Regions from separate parts of the Homo sapiens genome. Here regions 2 and 3 are each linked to region 1. Evidence: promoter capture Hi-C in 16 types of primary human blood cells and fetal thymus (Javierre and others, 2016). All regions are on one chromosome and are shown on one strand. Each heading gives the region's core, a stretch centred on a gene start or on the middle of the fragment in contact. The rest is flanking DNA. Distances are from core to core; before and after follow the strand shown.

Evidence for each region. Contacts are between HindIII fragments. The CHiCAGO score rates a contact against its expected background, and 5 or more counts as called.
Region 2: a contact is called between a fragment that was not itself captured here and the fragment with the promoter of EMILIN2 in region 1, in 1 of 17 cell types (monocytes). The highest score is 9.2, in monocytes.
Region 3: a fragment that was not itself captured here is called in contact with the fragment with the promoter of EMILIN2 in region 1 in 1 of 17 cell types (monocytes); the score reaches 7.2 in monocytes.

The regions. Positions count from the first base shown.
Region 1 is chr18:2,845,689-2,848,339 of GRCh38, forward strand. EMILIN2 (elastin microfibril interfacer 2) reads left to right here and starts at 1,318. Exons shown (of 8, transcript NM_032048.3): 1 at 1,318-1,634; 2 at 2,121-2,243. The coding sequence starts at 1,501. RefSeq lists silencers at 1,536-1,585, 2,206-2,295. The HindIII fragment of the contact is 11,570 bases long and covers 274-2,651 here.
Region 2 is chr18:2,804,833-2,807,483 of GRCh38, forward strand. It overlaps SMCHD1 (structural maintenance of chromosomes flexible hinge domain containing 1), which reads left to right. Exons shown (of 48, transcript NM_015295.3): 48 at 1-185. Among named protein-coding and RNA genes, the nearest start is that of EMILIN2, 41 kb to the right of the region's middle. The HindIII fragment of the contact is 507 bases long and covers 1,036-1,542 here.
Region 3 is chr18:2,883,006-2,885,656 of GRCh38, forward strand. EMILIN2 (elastin microfibril interfacer 2) reads left to right here. Exons shown (of 8, transcript NM_032048.3): 3 at 1,959-2,134. Among named protein-coding and RNA genes, the nearest start is that of EMILIN2, 37 kb to the left of the region's middle. The HindIII fragment of the contact is 6,579 bases long and covers 1-2,651 here.

The sequences.
Region 1 (2,651 bases), core at 68-2,567:
CTGGAGTGCAGTGGTGAGATCCCGGCTCACTGCAACCTCCATCTCTCTGGTTCAAGCGATTCTCCTGCCTCAGCCTCCCAAGTAGCTGGGATTACAGGCATGTGCCACCGTGCCCGGCAAATTTTTTTTTTTTTTTTGTACTTTTAGTAGAGACGGGGTTTCTCCATGTTGGTCAGGCTGGTCTTGAACTCCCGACGTCAGGTGATCCACCCGCCTCGACCTCCCAAAGTGCTGGGATTACAGGCGTGAGCCACCCCGCCTGGCCCATAGCAAAGCTTTATTCACTTAACGAGTCATGGCCAACAGCGTCTGGTTAGCTCACAGAGGCCACAGTTTTATCTGTGGAGTCTGGTAACCACGCCACTCACGACCCTGTACATTGATTAGATGCAGCAGGTCATCTCAAACACACAGCTCTCTCCAACACCCCTTAGAATACAACACTTGGGTGGTGATTTTACTTAACATTCTGGTACTTCATCCCAAAAAGACATCGGTAGAGATTAGTGTAACTCAACAACAGGCAGAAAACATACAAGAAAGTTTAAGACGGATGTCTAGCAGTGCCTGAACTGTTAAGAAGCAAACGTGAGTAAATGCCTTAGTTTCAATAGAAAAAGAAAGTTCACAGTGGGACCTCAGAAGCAGAGGCTGTGAGATCACCTTTCAAGAATTGGAGGAGAATTGCAGTAAGTGATAGAGCCGGACGCTGAGCTGCAGCAGCCTCTGGGAATTGGCGGGGCTGTGGCTTGTCCTGTCCTGCCGCCCCCCGCGTGGCCTCGGAAACTGTCAGATGGTGCCTAAGGCAGAGTTGGGCAAAGAAAGAACCAGCGTTCGTTTCCTCCTGGACTCTCTAGGTCCATGGAGCTGGTGGGGGAACGGCCCTGTCTTGCCCGAGGAGGAAATTCGAGTCGAGCCCCCACTCCTCTCCCCGCGGGACTGATAAACATGTCCCTCATTCGCCCCGGGAGGCTGGCACCCAGGCACGACGCGAGGACGGCCAGACTCGCCGACGGCGGCCGCGTCCCGGGGGGCCGGGAGCGAGCCTGTCGGAAGGTGGGAGGCGGAGTCGCTCGGCATCTGGGAAGAGACCAAAGGAATGAGTCATTGGAAATGCTGTAACGTAGACCCTTATCCCAAACCCTTTCGCCCCTCCACCCCGAGCCCCCTGCCGAGAAGCGAAGGGACTGGAGACGGGGAGACTTGGTGGGGGGAGAGTCACGTTTCGGAGAGGGAAGTGAAATAAAGAGGGCGGCACCCGGGGGGACCTGTGCGTCATTGAGGGACCGGGGAGAAGCGCAGGGCGCACGGGGCTGCAGAAGGAGAAGTAGGAACGAGAAGCCGGAGGGGGCGGCCGCGGAGCACTGGTTGGAGCGCCGCGAAGCGCCCGAGCCTCTTGCCTTCGCGGGCGGCGCCCTGGCCGCCGGCAGCCTTGTGGCCGGTGCCCCGATCCGCCGCGCTCCGGACCCGGGCAGGCGGGGCGCGCCCGCTGCGCGCGGGATGTGGCAGCCCAGACGGCCCTGGCCCCGCGTGCCCTGGCGCTGGGCGCTGGCGCTGCTGGCCCTGGTTGGCGCGGGGCTGTGCCACGCCGGCCCGCAGCCCGGGTATCCCGCGCGGCCCAGCGCCAGGAACAAGTAAGTGCGCGCCCCTTGGCTGGCCCCAAACCGCCTACCCCTCCCCGGCCCCCAGTTGAGCCCCAGAGCTGCCCTGCCAAAGACGACGAGCGGCAGCCGGGGGCCTCCCTTGGACTTCCCCGGGCGGCTCCCTCTGCGGGGGACCGCGCGCTCCGCAGCCGGCGCCTCAGGCAGAGCTGACTCCGGGGGCGTGGGCGCAGAGAGCGTCCCGCAGACCCGGGCGATCCGAAAACGACTCCCAGGAATTCCATGAGCCCCTGGGACCATGGGTGCTTTTCTTTCCCGTCTTGGTCGGGTCCAGGCGCGCGCTCTCCAGAGGCGCACCCGGGCACCCTCCGGCGTCTGCTCGGTGAAGCTCCCGCCTCCGCAGAGGGCGACGGGCCCCCCCGACCCTCGCTCGGTCTGGTGCCGCAGTCCCCTCTCCCCTGGCCTCATTGTTCTCCGGGTTTACCCCGTGCCCCTCTCCCTCTCTCTCCTGCACCCCAGGAACTGGTGCGCCTACATCGTGAACAAGAATGTGAGCTGCTCCGTGCTGGAGGGAAGTGAGAGTTTTATTCAGGCTCAGTACAACTGTGCCTGGAACCAGATGCCCTGTCCGTCGGCGCTGGTGTAAGTCCTGGAGCCGGGGAGCGGGCGGGGCGCGCCCGGGCCGGGGCGGTGGGGGTGGGGTGGGGTTGCTGCGCTGGGCTCCAGTCCCTCCGGTAAATCCCTTCCAGATCCGGTGAAAAGCCCGCAGCGGAAAAGCGCTCCGAGCGCTCGCGGGGCACCGGCCACGCTGGGCTATTTAGGGAGTGGGTGCTGCCCGAGTGAGTGGGGAGGATGCGCGCGCCTCGGGAGTGTGGGGTCGCGGGGGCGTAGGAGAGGATGAACAAAGCTCCCACTCCCACTTCTGTTTTCTCCCTTTCAATGTTTGTTTGTAACATAAGGCAGCTGAATCTAATTGGATCCATATTGTGTGTTCTGGGGCACACAGAAGATTCCAAAATGTATACTGCTAAAGACTATTCCGTATAGGAT
Region 2 (2,651 bases), core at 39-2,538, 41 kb before region 1:
AACTGGAGAAAAAAATTAATGCTACAGCCATTTATCCTGTGTTATGTGTTATATAATCTGAAATTTGTCACAATGTTACAATCAGGAAGTTTTTTTTCTGGTTTCTTCTTCCAAAGGAAAATAATAGCCTACTTGTATTTTGAAGTAACTGAAATAAAACTCTCTCCAAGCCTTTTTGCACATTACGTTCATCAGTTTTCATGTGTACATTTGGCCAGGCCTATGGTAAAAATAGGCTCAATTTACTTAACATTTTTATAGGGTTTTTGGTATAAGATTCTTTACAGAGACTAAAATTTGTTGCATATATAACATTCAGATTATTTTAAGTGAAATTGGCTCCTATTGTTAAATATTAGTGCTAAGGAAAGTTCAGTCTTCTAAACTGTCTATACTTTGGCTCTGTGACTTGATTACTTTATAGTCATTATGAAATTGATGGGGTTAATTCCATTGTATTTTTAGTATAGAATTTTCAAATAATACATTTTAGTAAAAAAATTGAATGTTTAATTTTCATACTGTGAAACTGGTGAAAAATATTAAAAACAACCATTTAAAACTTCTGGAAATGGTCCTGAGGACAAATGGCAATGAAGAAACATCTATTCAAGAACATTTACAAAAATTCAGTAAGGAAGATGAGAATCTGTGGTAGTTTGAACCAAGACTGACTACTCACTTCCACCTCCAAGCTCAGCAAGCAGACTAACGCAGCCAAAAACGCTGGGTTCCTTATCCCACCATCTCCCAGCCAGAAATTTTTTTCCCGAAAGGAGCGAGACTGTAGTGATTCTTGTCCTGCCTTCAACTGCCTTTTGCTAGCACTAAGTCCTGGGTCAGTGTGGCCAGGTGAGAGCCGTCTTCTCCCCACCAGGCCACAAAACCTTGAACACATGTGCTGAGATTGCTGGGGCCTTGATAACTCTCTGGCTCGTGAAGTAGGATTCTACCCCAGGAAAAGCAAGCCAAGAGGATCTCAGGCTACTGCCCCCTTCCATTGCACTCAGCTTCTAGAGCTAGAATGCCAACTCAAGCTTGCCATTGTCCCCACCTCTAGCTCCAGATCCCTGGCTCAGAGATTTTTGCCTGCAAATGAGGTAGGATGAAAACAAAACAGGTAGCTCTTAATCTCTTTCCAAAGGAACTGACTTTTAAAAAAAGAGCATGAGAAGTTTAAACTAGAGAGCTCGAGACACACAGCAAAAGAAGTGCAACATAGAGTAATTTATTGTAAAGGAGAAAGAATATTTTGAAAGTTAAGTGCAGGATAGACAGTACACCCTGAGAGAAAGGATTCAGGGCAGGCTGCTTTTAAGGGTGAGACTGCAAAGACTACACTAGTGTAAACAATAGAACAGTAAGCCAGCAATTAGTGGAGTTGAACAACAGGGTATATGGTCAAGAGGAAAAAGTGCGCGAGAGTACGCAGGATTTCTGGGGCATACCAAAAGCTGTGCCTCCCTGAGGAAGAACTTGAGAAACAACGCTGTTGGGATTAGGGAAGGATAGACTTCACTAAAATAATCCATCCAGGCACTAAGCTTAAGCAAATAATAATAACCAAACCAGAGGGAGGTGAACTAGTAGAGTAACTACAGTATGTTATTTAAAATGTCCAGTTTCCAACAAAAATGTATGAGGCATGCAAAGAAACAGTGTGACTCATACACTGGAAATAAAGCAGGCAGCAAAAACTGCCTGTGAGAGTGATCAGATGTCAGATTTAACCAAAAATTAAAGTACCCATTATAAATAAATATATTCACAGAACTAAACAAAAGATTAAAGAAGTAAACATTATGACAGTGTCTCATCAAATAAAGAATATCTCCTAAGCAAACTAACAGGAACAGAAAACCAAATACCGCATGTTCTCACTTATAAGGGGGTGTTCAACATTGAGCACACATGGACATAAACATGGGAACAATAGACACTGTGGACTGCTGGGGTGAGGAGGTGGGAGTGGGTTGAAAAACTACCTATTGGGTACTGTGCTCGCTACCTGGGTGCAATATACCCATGTAACAAACCCACACATGTGTACCCCGTATATCTAAAATAAAAGTTGAAATTATGTGTGTGTGTATATATAATTGAGATATATATATATAGAGAGAGAGAGAAATGTTTAAAGAACCATGTGGCAATTCTGGAGTTAGAAAGTGCAATAACTGAAATTTTAAAATTCACCAGGGGGCTTAACAGTAGGTTTGAACTGGCAGAAGAGAGAATAGGTGAATTTGAAGACAGATTGTAGAGATTATGTAAAAACAGAGAGAAAAGGCAATGAAGAAAATAGAGCCTCAGAGAAATGTGGAACACCATTAAGTGCAGCAATGTGCACTTAATGACACAGAAGGTAGGAAAAATATTCAAATACATAATGGCTGAAAACTATTAGAATACAATAATCTATACATCCAGGAAGCTGAACAAATTTCAAGCAGGATGACCACAAAGAGACCAACAGATAGACACATCAAATTCTGAAAGTCAAAGACAAGGAAAAAATCTTGAAAGCAGCAGGAATAAAAGTATAATACACATCTCTTACAAAGACAGCCCCAATAAGATTAACAGCTTCTCAGCAAAAACAATAGAGACCATATGGCAGTGGGTTATCATTTCAAAGTGCTCTAAGGAAA
Region 3 (2,651 bases), core at 75-2,574, 37 kb after region 1:
CTCCAGCCTGGGCGACCAAGTGATACTTATCTCTACAAAACAAAAAACACAACAAAAACCAAAGGAAACAGGGACAGTGGAAGGTGCTAGGAGGTCTAATGGGCTTGGCGGGTCCTAGCTGTCGGCAGGGCCCTCTTGGGATTCTGCAGGGTGCCTAGCCAGTCCCAGCGGGGTGGATCCTATACCCAGAGTGTAATTGTCAGTGTGTGACCCTCGGGGAGGATGTCAAAGGTCCAGCACATGATTTGTGCTTTCCTCAGGGAGGTAACTTTGAAGTCCACCTGCCACAGGGCTGGTGCTTGGGAGGGAGTTGCTTTGCTGGGTAACCCCGCTGCTGCTATTGTCCCGCCTCCCCCCATGGGCAGCTCTCAGCAACCCTGAAAAAGTGACACTCAGCCTATTGCTTTCTGGGAATTGGCTCAAGAAGAAGGCCAGCTGCTGGTGCTGGTGTAAGAAATGAAGAGGAGCTGAAGAGCTTCAAGAGAGATGATTTGCAAGGCAGGAAATCACAATTGGGCTGAAGTAGGGAGGCCCCATCCTGTGTGGCTGTGGCTTTTGCCTGTGCTGTGAGCAGGGGCCGCTGCGGGGGCTGAACTCCTGGCTCCTTCCCTGGTGAGCCCGGGACTGCAGGGCTGTCAAAGTCTGTTGTGGGCCCAGGCCCGGCCTTGAGTCTGGAGGACTTTCCAGCTCACTGCAAAGCTCTCTGTGTGATATTCCAGGGCATGAGGGGATGTGCACTGTCAACAGGACTTTTTGAGTGCTTCCAATTCTGCTTCCTGATTTCTGTCATTGACAGTATGAACCAGGGCATCTTTGTAAAAAGTGGACACAAATAGTGTGAGCTGCCATCTGCAAAAGCTGGTGGCTACCTTTGCTAGCATCAGGAAAGGGAGGTGCAGCGGTAAACACACAGACATGATGGAGAGCAGGGTGCCAGGGATGTTTCTTTCTTTCTTTTTATTTTTTTTGAGTTGGAGTCTTGCTCTGTCACCCAGGCTGGAGTGCAGTGGCGCGATCTCGGCTCACTGCAAGCTCCACCTCCCGGGTTCACGCCATTCTCCTGCCTCAGCCTCCCAAGGAGCTGGGACTACAGGCGCACGCCATCACGCCCGGCTAATGTTTTTGTATTTTTAGTAGAGACGGGGTTTCACCGTGTTAGCCAGGATGGTCTCGATCTCCTGACCTCGTGATCCGCCTGCCTCGGCCTCCCAAAGTGCTCAGATTACAGGCGTGAGCCACCGCGCCCAGCCTCTTTTTCTTTTTTTTGAGACAGTCTCGCTGTGTCTCCCAGGCTGGAGTGCAATGGCGTGATCTCAGCTCACTGCAACCTCCGCCTTCTGGATTCAAACAATTCTCGTGCCTCAGCGGTAGCTGGGACTACAGGCATGCGCCACAACACCTGGCTAAGTTTCGTATTTTTTGTAGAGACTAGATTTCACCATGTTAGCCAGGCTAGTCTCGAACTCCTGGCCTCAAGTGATCTGCTGGCCTCAGCCTCCCAAAGTGCTGGGATTACAGGCATGAGCCACTGTGCCCGGCCAGGAATATTTCTTTAAAACACAAAACAAAACAATCTCTAGTGACACCTGAAACAAATCCCCACAAACTGAATTGTAGAACAGAAGTTTGGTGAAACAAAAGCTCAGTTTGGGGGCTGAAAAGTATCCTTCTCAAATGGGAGTCTTGGTGGAGATTTTCTAAGCTGTGTGTTCCCCTTGCTGGGAAACGGGTGCTCAGGGCAGGTGGAGGATTGGGGAGCCCCTGCCTTCCTGAGGCTGATCTGAGTTAGGCTGAACCCCCCAGTCAGATCTGGACTGAGGAGACCAACATCCCCTCTGGGCCAGCCTGGAGAGCAGGCAGGGTCCTGCATGCCCTGAGTCCTCTTTATTTGGGTCTAGCGCCGGAAGTTGCTTGTAACGGCAGCCAGTAAAGAGAGATGCCATCCCTTCTGTCCACAGGTATCGAGTGAACTTCAGACCTAGATATGTCACTAGGTATAAGACAGTGACACAGTTGGAATGGAGGTGCTGTCCTGGCTTTAGAGGGGGAGATTGCCAAGAAGGTCCCAAAGACCCCGTGAAGACCCTCCGCCCCACGCCGGCTCGGCCTCGAAACAGCTTGAAGAAAGCCACAGGTAACTTCTTATTTGTGCTATTATGTATGGCCACCTTTAATATTTCCGGTGCTCCTTCAAACAACAGGATTTGTGCTTTACAATGGTGAGCTTTGAATGGCCTTCGAATAACACACATAGATACCTGCAGTAGCCACATGTGACAAATTTATTCTCAGGAGCAGTAGCAATTGTAAGACAAACTTCCTTGCAAGTAAATTGCTTTGCTAGGGCCAGCTTGTTGTGAAAGCCAATGCCTTAAACATCAGGGTAGGAAATGCCAGTGGGTTCAGACTTGTGTCACCTGGAGGCACAGCTGTGAAGAGATTCAGATGTAATGATGTACTGTTTGTTTTTACTTGGGCCCATACATCTGAATTTAGGGGGGTTAAAATTGTTTTTTATTTTTTATTTTTTTGAGATGGAGTCTCGCTCTGTCGCCCAGGCTGGAGTGCAGTGGCGCAATCTCGGTTCACTGCAACCTCTGCCTACCTGGTTCAAGCAATTCTCCTGCCTTGGCCTCCGAGTAGCTGGGATT